3 separate regions of the Homo sapiens genome follow, and regions 2 and 3 are each linked to region 1. The links are contacts of gene promoters, found by promoter capture Hi-C in human tissues and cell types (Jung and others, 2019). All regions are on one chromosome and are shown on one strand. The core of a region is centred on a gene start or on the middle of the fragment in contact, and the rest is flanking DNA. Distances in the headings are between cores, read along the strand shown. Region 1 holds the start of NOL11 (nucleolar protein 11). Region 2 holds the start of BPTF (bromodomain PHD finger transcription factor). Region 3 has its middle 22 kb from the start of BPTF.

What was found. The method cuts DNA at HindIII sites, captures the fragments that hold promoters and counts their contacts. A contact is called where the count stands out against the background at its distance.
Region 2: the fragment with the promoter of BPTF here is called in contact with the fragment with the promoter of NOL11 in region 1 in 1 of the 25 tissues and cell types used here (stomach).
Region 3: a fragment that was not itself captured here is called in contact with the fragment with the promoter of NOL11 in region 1 in 2 of the 25 tissues and cell types used here (dorsolateral prefrontal cortex and hippocampus).

What each region holds. Positions count from the first base shown.
Region 1 is chr17:67,715,464-67,719,185 of GRCh38, reverse strand. It overlaps NOL11 (nucleolar protein 11), which reads right to left and starts at 1,250. Exons shown (of 18, transcript NM_015462.5): 1 at 1,098-1,250. The coding sequence starts at 1,238. LOC101928045 (a long non-coding RNA gene) reads left to right here and starts at 1,508. Exons shown (of 4, transcript NR_188294.1): 1 at 1,508-1,544. RefSeq lists enhancers at 1-77, 1,000-1,189, 1,260-1,339 and a silencer at 640-729. The HindIII fragment of the contact is 26,229 bases long and covers 1-3,722 here.
Region 2 is chr17:67,823,286-67,827,007 of GRCh38, reverse strand. It overlaps BPTF (bromodomain PHD finger transcription factor), which reads right to left and starts at 1,505. Exons shown (of 28, transcript NM_182641.4): 1 at 671-1,505. The coding sequence starts at 1,283. RefSeq lists enhancers at 632-901, 864-1,559, 1,560-2,257 and silencers at 952-1,151, 1,332-1,381, 1,582-1,651. The HindIII fragment of the contact is 39,315 bases long and covers 1-3,722 here.
Region 3 is chr17:67,801,658-67,805,379 of GRCh38, reverse strand. No RefSeq gene overlaps it. Among named protein-coding and RNA genes, the nearest start is that of BPTF, 22 kb to the left of the region's middle. The HindIII fragment of the contact is 6,501 bases long and covers 1-3,722 here.

The sequences.
Region 1 (3,722 bases), core at 1-2,500:
CTCAAGTGATCCACCCACCTGGGCCTCCCGAAGTTCTGGGATTACAGGCGTGAACCACCGCGTCCGGCCAAACCTCTAAAAGGGTAGTTAAAATGAAAATATAACTAAGTTCCTAAATAAGTAAATAAGCAACCCTTTGTTAAAAAAACAATAGTACATTTAAAAATTGATTATATTATGCCTCTGCATGGGAAGTTATGCCTCTGAACAGCGGCATGGGAAATTAAGTAGGGACATCTGGGATCATGTCTATCCAATTCCAATCTGCCATTGTATTCCTATGCAGGAGCTGCAAAACTGCAAATCTACTTGACATCCCAAGTGAAACCCAATAGAGTTAGCAGAGTCAAAACGGCACAGGGAGCTGTTAGCAACCTGTTCTCAAAACGTCAAAGCAGATACCTAACTTCTTTAAAACATGGAAAACTATGTTCAGCAGCCCAGAGAAAAGTAACTGCTTTCTATGCGACCACCAAAAGCAAGGTTAGAAAGTGTTCTCTATCAGGCTTTAGGCTGAAATGGGGGCAGGGCTTGCAGATTTTCCCAGGACTCAACTCCAGGATTCCCAGCGTGAATCAGAGATGCCAACAGACAACTCACTTGGAGGCAAGATTCTTAGCGAGCTATCAAGAAAGTCCCTCACTCTCTAAAATTGTCCCCGCCCCTACAAAGAGAGGGGTGTGAAGTGTAGACACGGCTAAACCACTATTCCCACTCTGTCAGTGTCATCCTCTCCCGCCCAACCAATCTCCGTTCCATCCTCCCGCGGGCGGCTAAGATAATAAAGACCCTAGGAGGGAATCTTAGCAAGGCCAATTCCGCGAGTTCCGAAGCAAAAGCACAGGTTTTCTTTCTTTTCCGAGTCTAACCCACGTGCACTCAGACGCTCTGCCCCTGCAAGTCGGAAATATGCCTTTACAGGAAGGCAAGCAAGCCAGATTCCAGACCTCACTCAGCGTCCCCAACAGGCCCAGCCGGCTCTCTGCTAAGCCTTCTCCACGATCTCTTTCTGAAGCTGTGAGAAACTTGAGCTCGAGCTCCGCGCTCAGAAAGGGGCGAGAAGGCAGTCGGGGCGCTCCCAAACCTATTGCCTTCACCTTATAGAGGATGACTGTCCTGCCGCTGTCTGTCACTAGAAACTGGTCTGTTTTGTCGCTCTGCTCCACGCCTAGGAGTCCTTCAGGCCCGGCGCTCAGGACTACCGAAGACAACGTGAATTCTTCCTCCAGCGCTGCCATTTTGAGCAAACCTAAGTACGGCCGCGCTCACTCCCGGCAGGCCTCGCGCTTTCTCTCGCGAGAATGAACGGGCCTGAGGGGGCGAGTGCTTGCCAAACCAGGAACCTGCTCTCGCAGCCTGCGACCTCTGGCGGGCGGAAGGAGCGAGCGCGACTGTGAATTTAGCCAGGTGGGCTGGGCCGGCTTGCGTCAGACTCCGCCTCCCGAGACCACGCCTCGCCGAGTCCCGGATGTGCTCCAGGAAGGGATAGGGTAGGCGCGGAAGTGCTGCTTACTGGGTCCTGAATCGGCTGCGTGCTGTTCTAGGTGGGGACTTGAGAGACTGTAGATGGGTCTAGGGAGTGGTCGAATATAAATAAGCTAGATTTTTTTTTTTTTAATTGCAAGGGAACTCCCTAGGAATTCCATCCATGGCCTTGTGGAACGATCTGCCAAAGAAAAAATATTTATCTCTGTAGGTAAACTCCCAATAACGTGCTGTTCCTACGTGAAATGCTTAATTCCCCCCAAGTTTCTTGGAACCCTCTAGAGATCTCCAGTCTTTTCAGTCTTTCAGGCCTTCTGAGTTCTCTGACTCCCCTTCTCTGAGCCCCAGTGGGGAAAATCTCTCCTCAGCTTACAGGAAATTCAGACTAGTTTGATGAAGGTGAAGTTGAAGGTCCCCTGTGTGATTTTTGGCAAGGTTTTTATTTCCGGGAGAAATGTATGTTTCTCAGATAAGCATGGCAGATTCAATCAATAATGTTAAATAAATAAGTAAAGATAAATTGTGATGTTCTTAGGGAGAAACCATTTAATAGGCAATTACTAAACAAATGTACCCAGTGTGACAAAGTGCCTCAGTTTAGATTTAAGCATCCACCAGATCGCCATGTGTGTTGTTTCTCATTGCCCCAACATGACGACATGGGCAAAAGGAGAATATCCAGCTACTGTGAAGGAATCAAATGCAGTCTATTTTTATAATGCTAATAGGTCTTTTGTTGTTCAAAAGTAGTGGCATTATCATGGCTCACTGCAGCCTCTAACTCTTGGGCTAAATAAAGCAATCCTCCTGCTTCAGCCTCCCGAATAACTGGGACTACAGGCATCCATCACCACGCCCGGCTAATTTTTGTATTTTTTGCAGACATGGAGTCTTGCTTTGTTGCCCAAGGTGATCTTGAACTCTGATAATCTTTTAATTTTTAGGCTGGGTTGTGAGATCAAGAGGATATAGTTTATTATTATGCTTCATAACTTACTTTGTGATAGGTGGTAAGAAGAAAAACATTAAACTCAGAAGGGAGAGATAAAGCGTGGGTGTGTGGGGGAGGAAGGAGTGGTCTGTGTATGTGAAATTTTCACTAGGATGACCACAGGCCTCCTTGAGAGGATGTCTTTTTTTTTTTTTTTTTTTTTTTGAGACAGGGTCTTGCTCTGTCGCCCAGGCTGGAGTGACGCAGTCTCAACTCACTGCAATCTCTGCTTCCCGGATTTAAGCTATCCTCCCACCTCAGCCTCCCGAGTACCTGGGACTACAGACATGCACCACCATGCCCGGCTAATTTTTGTATTTTTTGTAAAGATGGGGTTTCACCGTATTGCCCAAGCTGACCTTGAATTCCTGGGCTGAAATGACCCTCCCCCCTTGGCCTCCTAGAGTGCTGGGATTACAGAGCCACAGTGCCTGGCCCAAGGGTATCTTTTGAGGATGGCATGAAGGAGGGGAGGGAGCGATCATGCAGTTAACTAGGGGAGGGAGCGATCATGCAGTTAACTAAGAGCATTCTCAGTAGCAAGTGCGCCTGGGGCACCAACAGGGAGATTCCCTAGAAGTCTATCGCAGTTATTGTAGTTACCAGGTGAGAGGTGATGAGGGCACCATCAGTAGCAAGGCTTTTCTTTCTTTCTTTCTTTTTTCTTTTTTGAGGCGGAGTCTTGCACTGTAGCCCAGGCTGGAGTGCAGTGGCGCAATCTCGGCTCACTGCAAGCTCTGCGCCCCGGGTTCACGCCATTCCCCTGCCTCAGCCTCCTGAGCTGGGACTACAGGCGCCCGCCACCATGCCCGGCTGACTTGTTTGTATTTTTAGTAGAGACAGGGTTTCACCTTGTTAGCCAGGATGGTCTCGATCCCCTGACCTCGTGATTCGCCCGCCTCGGCCTCCCAAAGTGCTGGGATTACAGGCGTGAGCCACTGCGCCCAGCCTTTTTTTTTCTTTTTTGAGACAGAGGTTCACTCTTGTCACGAAGGCTGGAGTGCAATGGCACAATCTCGGCTCTCTGCAACCTGCAACCTCTGCCCCCCGGGTTCAAGCGATTCTCCTGTCTCAGCCTCCCGAGTAGCTGGGATTAGAGGCACCCACCCCACACCTGGCTAATTTTTGTATTTTTAGTAGAGACGGGGTTTCACCATGTTGGCCAGGTTGGTCTCGAACTCCTGACCTCAGGTGATCCACCCGCCTCAGCCTCCCAAAGTGCTGGGATTACAGGCCTGAGCCACCG
Region 2 (3,722 bases), core at 256-2,755, 110 kb before region 1:
TTTAATCAGCCATTTAACAGCAACTGTTGCACGGGCCCATTAGCACTCGAAGAATAAAAACAAACACACAGGACCAGATAAGGTTCCCCTACTAACCCAAATGATCCGTTTCCTTAACACAATTTTAAAACCACAGCTAGGGGTGTGAAAACGCATTTTTTTGTGCGTGTTTGTGTACCACAATCTGTCCAAATCCTTAATTCCCTTTTAAGTAACAGATATATAATAAAAATCCGAAAGAAACCACATTAGAAATGCAAAGAGGTTTGCAAAACAAGAGGCTTCTTTCATTCCAGAAAACCACACCAAAACAAGGGGAGAAAAATGAATGCAATGGATATGTGTTTGCCAAAGTTTCAATCCTGCCCGGTGGAGACACTGCACTGGCACAAATTTTGAAGAGGAAAAAAAGGGGGTTGGGGGGGGGAGAGAGAGCGAGCGAGTGTGGCCTGCAAACTGCAACAATGCAATCTCCATTTTGAACAATGCGCCTCTTTCCTCTTGTAAATCTAGTTTTTTGCCACTTGATGTGCCGTCGCATTTCCCCTCTGTTTGGGGGGGAGGCGGGGTTGGGGGGAGATCGGAGCAGGATGCACAGCACACGAGTGAGCAAGGGGGGAGGGCAGAGGAGGTGGGGAAGGAGTCTGCAGCAACTGGGCTGGGTGGGTACCTGGAGTGCTGCTGTAGGTACTATGGCTCCTGAAGCTGCTTTCCGTGCAGTAACTGGCGTCGTCGTCGTCGTCTTCCATCTCCTCCGGATAATCGGAGTCATCGTCGTCCTCTTCCATCTCATCCTCCTCGTCGTCCTCAGAATCCTGGGTCTCCTCGGCGTCGCCGTCCTCCTCCTCCTCCTCCTCGGAGACCATGTCCTCCTCTTCCTCCTCCTCCTCGCTCTCGTGGTCATCGTACACCACTTTGTTGACGGCCCTCCGGGCCGCGGTGGTCCGGGCCAGGTGGCCGCCGCCGCCCCCGCCCCCCGTCCTGCCGCCCCCGCCTCCTCGCCCCCCCCGGCCCGGGGCGCTGGTGCTGGGGGGGGCCGGCGGCGGCGGCGGCGGCTTCCTCCGGCTACTGCTGCCCCCCCTGGGCGAGCTCAGCCGCGTCTTGGGCGCCACCTCAGCCTGGGCGGCGGCCCACCTGCCCCGGCTGCTGCCGCGGTGCCGCGAGCGGAGCCCCCCGATGGGTCCGGACGTGGGCGGCGGCGGCGGTGGCGGCGGGGCCGGGGCGCAGCGCTCCGCAGCGGGAGCCGCGGGCTGCTTGGGCGGCCTGCCCCGCCGGCCCCTCATGTCGGAGCCGAGGCGGGGGGAGAAGGAAAGCGAAGGGGGAGGGGCGGGCGCAGGGGGGGCGGTGGGGAGCGCCGGGGCCGGGTGGGGAGGCCCGCGGGGCCGGGCGGGAGGGGCCCGGCCGACGGAAGCGGGTGGAGGGAGAAGGCTCAATCCGAATTGCTGGGGCCCCACTCCGGATCGCCTTCAGCCGCCATCTTGTTTCTTCCCTCTCGCTCGGTGACTGGGGGAACCGACAGCGGCCGCAGGCCCAGAGCGCGGTCACGTGAGCTGCGCCGCCGACGAGCCTGGGACGGAGCGAAGCGGCGCGGCGGCCGCTAGGGGGAGCGCGGGAGCGTCGAGTCGGGGGCGGGGAGCCCTGGGCGCCTGGGCTCGGCACAGCGCGGTGCGGCTGGACTCCGGGCGCGGGTGGCGCGGCAAAACTCCGGGCGCAGGTGGCGCGGCTGAGAGGGGCGCGCAGCTCGCGAAATGCCCGGCGTCAAAGGCCTTCGGAGACCAAAGTCTCCGCGGACCGCTGGCTGGAGCCCAAAGCCGGCCGGACCTCCTCCCCGCGTCTCCCCTTTCGCGGCTCGGAGAGGAAGGCAAGGGAGCCCCCAAATATCATTCCCTTCCCTCCCCCTATGGAAACTGATGCTGAAAGAGCCAGCGAGAGAAAGAAAAAAAAAAGTCGCGGAGAGGGGCGGCCCAAGCGACCGAGGGCACCGGGCAGCGCCAGCGACAGAGGGAAATTAGTCGAGGGGACAGAGAGACAAGCCCCCTGAACTTAGGAAACTCTGAAGCATGGAGCTGGAGTCCAGAAAATGACTCCAATGACAACTGCTCCGGATCTGTGCCAGGAGCCACGCCCCGGGCTGCCACGCCCGGAGGGAGGGGCGCCCTAAGACCTGTAGCGTGGAATCCGCACTGGGAAAGCCTCAGTAAACTCCAGAACGCAACTACTGCACGTTCCAATGTCCCGCCACCTTCCCAGTGCCCCAGCTAGGACTTCGATCACCTCAGCAAGAACTTACCTCTCCTTTGCAGTGGAAAAGAGGGAATCCTGCCTAAAACCTACTTCACGGTGTTAAATGTTTGTATTATCGGGAAATAACCTTAATTTATTGACCTGACAAGTCACTAGGTTTCAGCTTAGCCCAAAGGACGAATCATGATGACATTTCAGGCACCCTCAAACCTTATCACAGCGACTCAACCCTGAGTGGTTGAGGTCAGCTCTTTAGATAAGAGAAAGGTGTTATAAACATATGAATATTTATTGAGAGAAGTGACAACCGAAAAGTAATTTAAAGAAAAATAGTTGGCCGGGCGTGGTAGCTCACACCTGCAATCCCAGTCCTTTGAGAGGCCAAGGCCGGATGATAGCTTGAGGTCAAGAGTTCAAGACCAGCCTGGGCAACATAGCAGGACCTCGTCTTTAGAAAAAATTTGAAAAATTAGCCGGGCATGGTGGTGTGCACCTGTGGTCCCAGCTAGCGAGAGGCTGAGGTGGGAGGATTGCTTGAGCCTGGGAGGTGGATGTTGCAGTGAGCCGTGATTGCACCACTGCACTCCAGCTTGGGTGACAGAGCAAGACCCTGTCTCAATTTTTTTTAAAAAAGATGCTGGGCGCGGTGGCTCACGCCTGTAATCCCAGCACTTTGGGAGGCTGAGGAGGGCGGATCACCAGGGCAGGAGTTTGAGACCAGCCTGGCCAATATGGTGAAACCCCATCTCTACTAAAAATGCAAAAGTTCTGTACTAAAAATACAAAAGTTAGCCAGGCGTGGTGGTGCGTGCCTGTAGTCCCAGCTACTCCAGAGGCTGAGGCAGAAGAATCGCTTGAGCCTGGGAGGTGGAGGTTGCAGTGAGCCGAGATCGCACCACTGCACTCCAGCCTGGCAACAAAGCAAGACTCCGTCTCAAAAAAATAAAAATAAAAATATCTAACAGAATTCTGCATACCAAATGGCTTATTTCAGTCTTGTTAGGAAAATGGAACACATATGTGAAATGAAAATTAAAATACAAGCACTAATTGCCAGAGAAATGCATTCAATACAATTTGGTCGAGCTCTAAGGGTGACAAATGTGTATATGTCTCCAGGGACCAGGTAAGTAATGTAAGTCAATAAAGTAGGCAAGATGAAGACCTAGGCCAATGGAGGTGCCCATATTTTGTTTGAAGAGGGTGGTCAGGCACGGTGGCTCAGGCCTGTAATCCCAGCACTTGAGGAGGCCAGGTGGGCGGATCACTTGAGCCCAGGAGTTCGAGATTATCCTGGGCAACATGGTGAAATCCTGTCTACTAAAAATACAAAAATTAGCTGGGCATGGTGGCTCATGCGTGTAATCCCAACTACTTGGGAAGCGGACAGGAGAATCGCTTAAACCCAGGAGGCAGAGGCTGCAGTGAGCCAAGATCGTGCCACTGGACTCCAGTCTGGGTGACACAGCAAGACTCTA
Region 3 (3,722 bases), core at 368-2,867, 86 kb before region 1:
TGTAATTCCAACACTTTGGGAGGCTAAGGCAGGAGGATGCCTTGAGCCCAGAGTTTGAGGCTGCAGTGAGCTATGATTATGCCATTGCACTCCAGCTTGGGAGACAGAAAGGGACTTTGTCACAAAACTAAATTAATTAAATAAATTTCTTTTCTTTTTTTTTTTTTTGACAGGGTCTCACTCTGTCACCGTGTCACCCAGGTTGGAGTGCAATGGCTCAATCTCAGCTCACTGTAACCTCCACCTCCCAGGCTCAAGTGATAACTCCTACCTCAGCCTATGAAGTAGCTAGGGACTGCAGGTGCCCACGACCACGCCTGGCTAATGTGTTTTGTTTGTATAGTTTTTGTAGAGATGGGGGTTTTGTCATGTTGCCCAGACTGGTCTGGAACTCCTGGGCTCAAGCGATCCATCCACCTCAGCCTCCCAAAGTGCTGGGATTACAGGTGTGAGCCATCGCACCTGCCCAATTTTTTTCCTTTTACTGTGTCTGTGGTTCCACAACTTCCTTTTTTCCCGTTCTCTATGGACTTTCTACCTAATTTGGACTCTGCTTAGATTGACCTAGTTTTCTTTTTAATCAAATCTTCAGGAACCAATTTATTACCATTAAAAATGATCTAACAAGCTTTATTTTTATCATTGTTTAAAATCCTCATTTTGAGTAACATAACCACAAAGTAAAGAATGTTATCATTGATTTAACCAGTAAAAGACAATACTTAACAATAAAATTTTAAAAACATACGCCAGCCGGCTTACCTGGTGAAAAAAATAATTGCGGCTGCGAGCTGCATTTGCCAGACAATGGTTTTAGATTTGCTGTGCACGCTGAACGCCATGAAAAATGGACTGCCTGGCCTCTTCATAAGGAAATCAATTACTTGCCTCATTCTGAGTGAAAAGAATGAAAGGATTTTAAAAATCATAATAACCAAAATGGGGAGAATAAAACAAACTGGGAAGAGGCATATCATACATTTCAAGCTAGTGTTGCTTTGTTTGAAAGTAAAGTCTTTATGCCTTCAAATATTTAAGGTGATTTTTATTCCTTCATTCTTGACTCCTCTGAAGCTCCTGGGAACACCCCCCCAAAAGCAGCTGCCAGCCTTTACTTCCTTTTTTTTTTTTTTTTTTTTTTGAGATGGAGTCTCCCTCTGTTTCCCAGGCTGGAGTGCAGTGGCGTTATCTTGGCTCCCTGCAAGCTCCGCCTCCCGGGTTCACACCATTCTCCGCCTCAGCCTCCCGAGTAGCTGGGATTACAGGCCGCTGCCACCACGCCCAGCTAATTTTTGTATTTTTAGTAGAGACGGGGTTTCACCGTGTTAGCCAGGATGGTCTTGATCTCCTGACCTCGTGATCCGCCCGCCTCCGCCTCCCAAAGTGCTGGGATTACAGGTGTGAGCCACCACGCAGCTGCCAGCCTTTAACCATGCCCCATGTCATTTTTTTCCCAGCTTGTCAGGACAGTCACTCAAACAGAGTCTCCTCTGATCCTCCCCAGCGCAGGCATCCCATTCAAGAATTTGCAGCCCGGCTCGCCTGGCAGTGGAAAACAAATTTTGTTTCCAGGGGGAAGTTACACATAATCTTTTTTTCTGAACTGGGCTTCCATCATACTTGAGTTACTTCTTTTGGCTCTGGGTGCTCCCTGAGCAGGCCTGGCTAGTAGGAAGTAAAGCAAGCACTGGTTTTTCAAAGCCCCATTTAGTCTTCCTAATGGGTCATTCTCACTGAGCACTATAGGGGCAAAAATATGTTGATTTCCTGATTGACTAAAGCTACCTTGAGTCATTTCAGCCATTTCATTATCTTCTCACCCTCACAAATACCACTTTCTCAGCCAGGAAGCTATAAAGCTGATGATGTCTTAGGAGATTTAGAATTTGATTAAACATTTATTTGCATTGCTCAAAACTGAATTTATAGTAGCTTGATCATAATATGAATGACCTTTTTTTTGTTGTTAGAGGAAGGGAAGACAGTAAATAAAACATACGTTTACATTTGCCAGCTGATGTTGAAGGCATATAGGATTTTCTTTTTCCTAAAAAAAAAGAGGCTGGGGAAAAGCTTCTTTTTCTTTTTCTTTTTTTTTTCTTTTTTTTTTCTGAGACACAGAGTCTTGATCTGTTGCCCAGGCTGGAATGCAGTGGCATGGTCTCAGCTCACTGCAACCTCTGCCTCCCGAGTAGCTGGGATTACAGTTGCCCACCACCATGCAGGGCTATTTTTGTATTTTTAGTAGAGGTGGGGTTTTACCATGTTGGCCAGGCTGGTCTCAAACTCCTGACCTCAAGTGATCTGCCTGCCTTGGCCTCCAAAGTGCTAGGGTGAGCTACCTTGCCTGGCCTTTTTTTTTTTTTTTTTTGAAACAGGGTCTCACTCTGCTCTGTTGCCTAGGCTGGAGTGCAGTGGCATGATCTCAGCTCACAGTAGCCTTGACCTCCTGGGCTCAAGTGATCCTCCCACTTCAGCCTCCAGGTAGCTGGGACTACAGGCACTTGCCACCATGCTAAGCATTTTTTTTTTTTTTTTGGATAGAGACGGGGTCTCACTATGTGCCCTGGCTGGTCTGGAACTCCTGGGCTCAAGCGATCCTCCTGCCTCAACCCCTCAAAGTGCTGGGATTATAGGCGTAAGCAAATGCACCCAGCCTGGGGTAAAGCTTCTTTTGCCTTGGCTGGGATCTATGGATTGTGTGGTGGTTAACTTTAGGTGTCAACTTGAATGGATTAAAGAATATCTAGAAACCTGGTAAAGCATTATTTATCCAATCTCCTAGGGTCCCGGAGAGAACAAAAACAGAGAGGTAACTATGTCAAGCTATCTGCTGGAGCTGGGACACATTCTTCCTCTCCTGTCCTTGGACAACAACTCCAGGCTCCCCAGCCTTCAAACTCCAGGACTTCTCCCCTCTCCTCCACCCTTCCTGGCTTCTCAGGCCTTTGGCCTTGAACTGAGAGCTACACCATCAGATTCCCTGATTCTGAGGCCTTCGGGACTTGAATTGAGCCATACTACCAGCCTCCCAGGGTCTCCAGTCTGCAGACGACCTGTTTTGGGACTTCTTGCCAATTTCCCTAATAAATAAACTCCATTTCGTCTTTCTCTCTTTCTCTCCTGTTGAATCTGTCTCCCTGGAGAACCCTGACTAATACAGATTGAGGCTGGAAGGAATGGATCTTCTTTGCCTTGTCCTGGGAAAACACACATCCACGTACATACAGTAGATTGCCCTTACAAACAGGTATGGCCAGGCTGGACCAAATTCTATAGGCTCTGACCTCAGCCAGGGCTACTGTAGTCTTATAGCAGTCACTCCCCAGGACTGCGCCTTGCTTTGCTGATTGTCTGACTCCTTCGTGTTCAGAAAAGCAGACCCAGATCACAGAGGCAAGGAACAGAAGGCAGTCTTGCAGACATGCCTCAACCCGTTTACATAGATTGAATCCCTTGGCCAGATCAGTGGCCCAGAAATGAATGAATGGAATCTCTCAGACCACCTGCAGCTACCTGACTTACCTGACCCCTCCGCTAGGAGGTGCTCAACATAACTATGGGGTGAAACTGGCCAGGCTGCGGGACATGGGGTGATGAAAGTATGACCAGCCCTTCAATCTAGCCTGCTTGCAGTCTTTTTTTTTTTTTTTTTTTGAGACAGAGTTTTGCTCTTGTCACCCAGGCTAGATTGCAATGGCGCGATCTCGGCTCACAGCAAC